Linked DNA regions of Homo sapiens: region 2 is linked to region 1. Evidence: promoter capture Hi-C in 16 types of primary human blood cells and fetal thymus (Javierre and others, 2016). All regions are on one chromosome and are shown on one strand. The core of a region is centred on a gene start or on the middle of the fragment in contact, and the rest is flanking DNA. Distances in the headings are between cores, read along the strand shown. Region 1 holds the start of KIAA1958. Region 2 overlaps SHOC1 (shortage in chiasmata 1).

Evidence for each region. Contacts are between HindIII fragments. The CHiCAGO score rates a contact against its expected background, and 5 or more counts as called.
Region 2: a fragment that was not itself captured here is called in contact with the fragment with the promoter of KIAA1958 in region 1 in 1 of 17 cell types (fetal thymus); the score reaches 5.1 in fetal thymus.

The regions. Positions count from the first base shown.
Region 1 is chr9:112,484,126-112,488,076 of GRCh38, forward strand. KIAA1958 reads left to right here and starts at 2,702. Exons shown (of 4, transcript NM_133465.4): 1 at 2,702-2,993. HSDL2-AS1 (HSDL2 antisense RNA 1) reads right to left here and starts at 3,519. Exons shown (of 5, transcript NR_171779.1): 1 at 2,854-3,519; 2 at 2,265-2,416. RefSeq lists an enhancer at 2,181-2,240 and silencers at 2,671-2,730, 2,811-3,300. The HindIII fragment of the contact is 12,105 bases long and covers 1-3,951 here.
Region 2 is chr9:111,757,128-111,761,078 of GRCh38, forward strand. It overlaps SHOC1 (shortage in chiasmata 1), which reads right to left. Exons shown (of 28, transcript NM_001378211.1): 6 at 1,568-1,721; 7 at 957-1,068. Among named protein-coding and RNA genes, the nearest start is that of SHOC1, 36 kb to the right of the region's middle. The HindIII fragment of the contact is 1,317 bases long and covers 1,498-2,814 here.

The DNA.
Region 1 (3,951 bases), core at 1,452-3,951:
ATTTTTTTTTCTTTTTGTAGAGACGAGGGTCTCACTATGCTACCCAAGGTGGTCTCAAACTCCTGGCCTCAAGCAATCCTCCTGCCGCACCCTCCCAAAGTGCCGGGATTATGGCCCTCAGCCAACCCACTAGGTTTACTGTGATTGCTTTCTCTAGGATCTTCGTTTTTCAAGTCCTAGCTGCCTTAATAGACCTGACTCCAAATTTTGTATCTCCAGGCCAGTAAGACTGCCGGTAAGCTCTAGGGTGCTTCTTTCTGACTTCTACACTCCTAGACACAAATCAACAATGCCCTGAGAAGGAAAAGCGGCTGAGAATGCAGGACTCACTTCAGAGTATTTCTCTTCTTCCTGGGGGGCTCGTGGACTCTCAAGCCTTGGATGACAGGGTTGCTCTCCAATTGTTTTAAACAGACTTATTTATTTTTTTAAACAGCTTTCATCGTTCTCAGTGGCAGAGTTAGTTTGTTCAACAAGGTACCTCATCATGGTTGGATGCCTGCATCATTAAAAAAATTCATTGTAGTGAAATATCCTTTAAACAAATAAAATTAGATTTGTTTTGAAGTTGATTGTGGCAAAAACAATTTAAAATTTACCTTTGTAACTACTTTTAAGTGTACAGTTCGGTGGTGTTATATTTACATTATTGTGTAACATCTCTAGAAATTTTTCATCTTGCAAAATTGAAACTCTGTACCCAGTAAACATTATATCACCATTTTCCCCTCCCTCTACCCTCTAGCAACCACTATTCTACCGTCTTGTTTCCACAAGTTTGACATAATCCCACAGTTTACATACCTCTACATAGTTCATATAGGTCAAATCATAACAGTATTTGTCCTTTTGTGACTGGTTTATTGCACTTGGCACAACATCCTCAAGGTTCATCTATGTTGTAGCCTGTGATAAGATTTCCTTCCTTTTTAAGGCTGAATAATATTCCATTATATGTATATATCACATTTTCATTCATCTCTTCATCTGTTGATGAACATTTGGGCTGCTTCAACCTCTTGGCTATTGTGAATAGTGCTGCAATGAACATGAATGTGCAAATATCTCTTCGATATCCTGCTTTCAATTCTTTTGGATATTTACCCAGAAGTGGGATTGCTGGATCATATGGTAGCTCTAGTTTTAGTTTTTTGAGGAACTTCCCCACTGTTTTGCATAGTGGTGGTACCATCTACATTCCTATCAGCATTGCATAAGAGTTCCAATTTCTCCACAAGATCCCATCTTTAGAATATGCAGCAATTAACTAGGGGGTTTTCATTTTTGGTCTTTTTTGTTTGTACAAACATTATTGTGTCAACATTTACACAGATTTTAAATTTCAGCCTAGACCTGGAAGAGTGTTGATAGAGGAAGGTGTTAAGAACATCAACCGGAATCAGCTCTAGAGATGGAGAGGGGTTGGCAGAAGCTACCTAAAAGAGAACATGCTTGATGTGGTAATGAAGTTACCTGCTTGGATTCTGGACGACCCTGGATATTTTCTCCTTTGCTAAGAAGTTAGCTTCTTTCTCTCCCTCAAAAATATTCTTCTCTTCCCTTACCTACTCCAAGGGTACAAGTGACTGGGGTATGCCTGTCACAGATGAGGTGAGGCCAAGATGTGGGCACTACGTAAGGCCTGACAGATATGGTGTAAATGTTATTTATTACCATGATTACTGTTTTGGAGATGGTCAGTGCTGTAAATAGAAAGGGAGTTAAGAGCAGACTCTGAAGCCAGACTGTCCGGAATGAATCCAGGCTCCTCTAGCTACTATCTATGTGATGTTGAAAAAATTTCTTAATTTCTCTGTGCCTCAGTTTCCTTATCATAAAATGGCAATGTTAATAGCACCCACTATGTAGAGTTCTTAGGATTAAATAAATTAATATTCGCTAAGTACTCAGTGCAAACTGTGGGCACACAGCAAGTACTACGAAAGTGTTAGGTAAAATAAAGGTGGACCAAGCCTGGTAGCACCTAGCAAGTCCAGCTTCATCTTTGCTGTGCTGAGTCGTGTAGGTGGTGTTCTTGTGTCTCTGGTTTGCTGGAGGACCTAGTTTTAGTGTATTTTAGGTATCATTAAGCATCCCCGCTCCCTCGATGGGATAGGGGTGTGTGTGTTACAGGTGGTTGTTGGGCACCTTCACGGGGCAGCGGTGACTATGGGCTGTACGTAGTATCTCGGTAGAAAGTGTTAATGCACATCCCTGGGCGGAGAGGTAACTCTACTCAATGCGTTATAAGGGAAATCACACACCTCACGGATGGTGTAGGTTCTGTCTGCTCCTTGCGTTTCAGTGGAGGTGCACAGAGCTCCGGGGGGCATCGGGGACCGCGGGCCCAGGACGTGTAGTAGGGAGCAGTGCTGTACACTTCCTCGGACCATAGCGGGGACGGCGGGTTCCACACCTGTCGGGGCAGTAGGGACTGAGCTCGTGCGCGCGGAGGATGGATTGCTCCAACCTCTCGGTCCAGCGCGCCGGCCGCCGCGTGCGAACGTGTGTGCGGCAGGAGGCTCGATCTACACCTCCTCGGGGCAGCAACGACTGCGAGCTCGGTGCGTGCCGTAGGAGGTGTCGTTACACACTTCCTGTGGGTCTCGCCGACCACGGCGCGTTTCCGGTGCCGGCTGGAGCCCGGGGTCCGAGCCCCCGCCCCGCTCGCCGGCCCCGCCCCGGCCCGCCCGCGCCCCGCCCCCTGCCCGCCCGCCGCGCTCCGAGCCGGGCGCGCGGAGCTCGGGGCGCACGGAGCGGCGCGCGGCGGTCGGCCGAGCCAGGCTGGCGCCCCCGCCCCCCGCCCCGCTCCTCGGTCCGCCGCCCGCCGGGCGCCTTCCCCGCTCCACTTACCTTTGGTGCCCGGCCCTCTGGCCGCTCTCCTCCCGCCCTCGCGCCCCTTCGGCCCGTCCCGTCCAGCCCGGGCTGCCCGGCTCTCGCAGGCCCCCCCGCGCCGACCGCGTTCCTATGGACAGACGCACAGACACCTGCAGGTGGGTGAGAGCCCGCGCGCGGGGCGGGGACGAGTGCGCCGACGCCGCGACCCAGGCGGGGAGCCCCTTTGTGTGGGGGGCGGCCGCGCCGGGGTCGACTCTGCTTCCCCGTCAGCGGCCGCGCGGTGACCCGGCTGAACCTTCCTTTTGTCTCCTCTCGGGGGAGCGAGGCCGGAGCGAGGGCAGGGACCCGGGCGGCCGCTCGTCGGCAGCGCCGGGCTTGGGGGTGCGAGGCGCAGAGACCCCCGGTGGCGGCTCCGGTCCGCCTGCCCCGGGCCGCCCCGCCGCCCGGCAGCTCGGGTCTCAGCGGCGGCTGCAGGCGCAGTGCGTGGGGCTGGCGCCCCCGCTCCTGCTCTTGGGTCTGTCGGAGGTGGGAAGGAGGGCGGGAAGGAGGAGGAAAAGGTCTGTCCTCTTAGTTTCCAAGTCTTGAGATGCTTATGGAGAAAGAGAGGTGGTTCAGGGCTCTGCCCCACTAGTTTTCCTCCTCGGGTGGCTCGCCGAGGTGCGTTTGGGGCGTGTGTGAAGGAACGTGCATGGCTTCGCTCCCTTATTTATTGTTTCTAACGGAGGAGGGCTTTCTCCAAAAGGCTCTTCCGCCCCCCCACCCCCATCTGAGGCTGCGCACAGTGATTTGTGTTTGTTATCAAATATATCGAGAAATGTATTCCCCTGGGTAGGAGGAGGTTGGACTGAACAACGTCAAACCAAAATCAAAGAATGTTTTTGGTTCCTTCAAGTCTTTTTTTTTCTTTAAGGTTTTAGATTGGGACTTTAAAAAAAATGAACGTGGCTGTGATTTTTACAATTATATGTATTTAGTGTGTGTGCGTGTGTGTGTGTGTGTGTGTGTGTGTGTTTTGAAGTTTAGGAGTAAAGTTTTGTTTTTTCCCGAACTCGTTAGGATTCGCAAGACGGAATCCTCTCCCGACGAAATAAACAGCTAACAAGCCAGTCAGGT
Region 2 (3,951 bases), core at 906-3,405, 730 kb before region 1:
GATGGAGTCTCGCTCTGTCACCCAGGCTGGAGTGCAGTGGTGCGATCTCACTGCAAGCTCCGCCTCCTGGGTTCACGCCATTCTCCTGCCTCAGCCTCCCGAGTAGCTGGGACTACAGGCGCCCACCACTATGCCTGGCTAATTTTTTGTATTTTTAGTAGAGACAGAGTTTCACCATGTTAGCCAGGATGGTCTCGATCTCCTGACCTCGTGATCTGCCCACCTCGGCCTCCCAAAGTGCTGGGATCACAGGCGTGAGCCACCGCGCCCGGCCAAAAAATGTTTTTTTAAAGTAGCTTTGTGAACGCATCTAATCAATATGGGCCTAGATTTCTGAGCTTGTCCAGCTGCAAAAAGTTATTGCAATCGCAATAGCTAGAATTCTTTACATACTGATATTATGACCATTTTGTGTGCTATTGAAACTAAATGCATCTTTGAGAAGTTTGGCCTTTAATATGCAAAAGATGCTATCATCCTTGTTAAACACTGGCAGAAAACTAAAATTCAGTCTTGGACCCTCTATATTCTTACTCTTGCAATATTCTCATTAGCTCAAGTACTATTTTTTGTGTATAACTCACAAATCAATATTTCTAGTTCAGGTGTCAATTTTTAAACTAGACATGACTACTTAATTTCCTATACCAGGTATATTGATTACAATTATTGGAAGAGATTTTAAAGTTCCCTATGACTGGCCTGCACACCAGACCAATTTATCAGAATATATCTCAGGCTTCAACATTTTTTTTTAACTATTCAGGTAATTCCAACATACAGCCAAGGCTGAGAACCACTATTTAGAAGTAAATTTGACTTCTTAATTGATACATGTTCATTCCATTATAAAATCTTTTTAATTTGACAATTGTAGACAATGTATATTACACAAATTTTACAAAAATGTGCCTCACTACTTTTACTAAAATATTATTGAAAGCCAGTATTACAACCTCATTTAAACATATTGTATCTTCTAGTTTCTCTTGACAAAAGTTCACTTTATCCATACAAAAATCTTCTTTCACAAAAGCTTCCAAAGTTTCTTGAAGAGAGAAACATTCCCTTAAAAAAAAATACATTAATTAGTGTTTACTAAAAGCAAGTTACATACTAAATGTAGCCAACCAAAACACATAATCATTAAAATTAAAGTTGAGGTAAAACGATGATAAAAGTTATTGGCCGGGTGCAGTGGCTCACGCCTGTAATCCCAGCACTTTGGGAGGCCGAGGCGGGTGGATCACCTGAGGTCAGGAGTTCAAGACCAGCCTGGCCAACATGGTGAAACCATGTCTCTACTAAAAATACAAAAATTAGCTGGGCACAGTGGCGCACGCCTGTAGTCTCAGCAAGGCTGAGGCAGGAGAATCGCATGTGCCCAGGAGGCGGAGGTTGCAGTGAGCCGAGATTGCGCCATTGTACTCCAGCCTGGGCGACAGAGCAAGACTCATCTCAAAACAAAACAAAAAAAAACATTGTTGATAACATCTAAGCTTGTGATCATACTAAAACATTTTCACCTCTTAAAAATATTTACAGCATTGGTCAATTAAGTAAGTACCTGGAAAAATTAGCTTCTGTGAAGATCTGTCCTTTGAAATCTAAAAGAGGATCCTTTACCAAAAACAGTTTTAGTCTACTCAAGAGAGTAGGCAAAGTTGGTAGGTGTTTTCTACTACTTACAAAAAGTATTCCTTTATCATCAATAAATAAATCTGAAAAGAAATAAGAAATATAAAGGAATAAGAAAAAAACAAAAAGTTATCCAAAGAGATCTAGATAGTTAATGTAATCAGTCATTAGATACAGCTGGGTTTTTCAATCACATTTTAAACTCTGTAGCTCTTCATTGTACTGTGCATATAGAGCATGTAGCATAGTTCTGGAACAAAGGCAAAAGTACAATAAATTTTAGTATTATCTAGGACACCGAGGAATAGCCAAATATCCCAAAAGAGCTGTAACGGCTAATACTTTATCAATAAAGATTAATCAATGGAGGAAAATATCTTATGGACTTACACTTCAAAATAGCCAGGCGTAGCCTAAGCAAAATTTTAAAGAAATAGAAGTATTTGACTTCTGCTGACCTTGGTCTTCTCTGCATCATTTTACCTCTTAATATCTCCAATTCATCCCCCAGAGTCTCTGACATGTAGGGAATGGAGATGGTCTACAGTGCCTACAAATGAGACTGATTCTATTATTCTTAAGTTATTCACATGGTTGCTATAAAATTATTTACAGTGAAAGTTTTAAGCAAAGAATCTACTTGAGGAGTATGATATAGCTTATGTATTAAGAAACACTACTGCTAACAGTTAATTTCTGGAATAAATTTCTCCTCTCGGTCTCCACCCTGCCTTGTCTGGGTTTCTTTAGAATCTTGGCTAGCTGTCTAACAGCTTTAACAGTTTCTAAGTCACAGGAAGGAACATAAACTTGCCCCCAATTCTTCAATAAGTTTTTGAGTAGAAAGAGAAAAAGAAAAATATAAGCTCAGATGAAGAACTACTCAAAAAGCCAAGTTCCCAAAAAAGAAAGCCATCCTGAAGGGAGAGCAATGGTTTCTCATCCTGGGTATTGACTTTTCGGTTAAGTGACGCTGAATGGCATAAGAAAAGAATAGTACGGAGTTTTCAGGTAGTAATGTCTCCCACGGTTAACTACATAATTGGTATGCAGGCAGCAAGGGAACATCCCTTTGCTTGGTGCTAACTTGATATGCCTTAAGAGAACTTGTGGTATGAACTAGCTTCCTAAAAGAGATTTATCTGAACTTAAGTTCCTGACAATCTCATGGCCAAAAGCTTCCCATGACACACCAAAGGAAGTTAGTCAATCAATTCCATGTCTAAGGAGGGCTTATCTGAGACAGTTAAATATGGTTTACTGGTATAATCCATTCTGTAAGTATTAATGAAATCACATTAATAGTAAAAACCCAAACAGCATTAATTTATATCCTATATCCACCTTCTGCTTCTAAACAGATCCTCCAGCCATCTTCCCTATCTACAGCCTCATTCTGGATATTTCTGGAACTAAATGGCTGACATCTGAAGTCAGTTATATGGTCTTGTTTTCCATCCACCCTTTTTTGATGAAACCACTTGAGGGCAGCATCACACCACAACTAATATTCTTTGTAATTCTACCAAGGTTGTTTATAGCAAGAGTGCCACTTCCTTACTTTCTTTGAGTTATACAGCATGCCCTGGAGTTCTTATTTTACTACAGCTAATACATGTACTATACAGATATAAGGAGACTGTTTTCTTCTATTGTAGAGGAATATTAAATTGTCACCAGGAAACAAAATTTTGGCTAGTTAACTATGAAAAGAAGCAGAAAAAGGTCTACTAATATGAAAGAAGAGAGGTTTATTCTTTACAAAGGACACTTTTGTCTCCCTAGAAAATTCAAGATAATGAAATGAAAACAAAAGAGTTCACTAAGTTATCTGATAAAAATTATACAATTAATGTTTTTTTTTAATATATAAAAACTTGGTCATAAAAATTAATGGAAAAAACATAAAAATACCAATTTGTGAACTATCAAGGACTAAACATAAAAATATTCAGAAAGTATATGCAGGAAATGATAGAACTTTATTGAAGATCATTTTTTTAAAAATTTGAAAAAAAGGCAAGATAAAAAACACTTTCCTAGCTAGAAAGACTAACTATGGTAAAATTTTAAAGGATCCCATTACCATTTCAAGAGGTCTGTTTTAGAACTTGGAAAAGTGATTACAAAGTAAATCTGGAAGAATATAGTTATGAGAGTAGAAAAAAGTAATAAAATAGGAGATTATTTATATATTATAATTATACATTTAATAGTTAAAATTATATGATACTGACACAATAATAGGCAAAATAGATCATAATAGAAAATCCAGAAATGAATTCTAATGTGGTTAAGGATTTAATATATAAT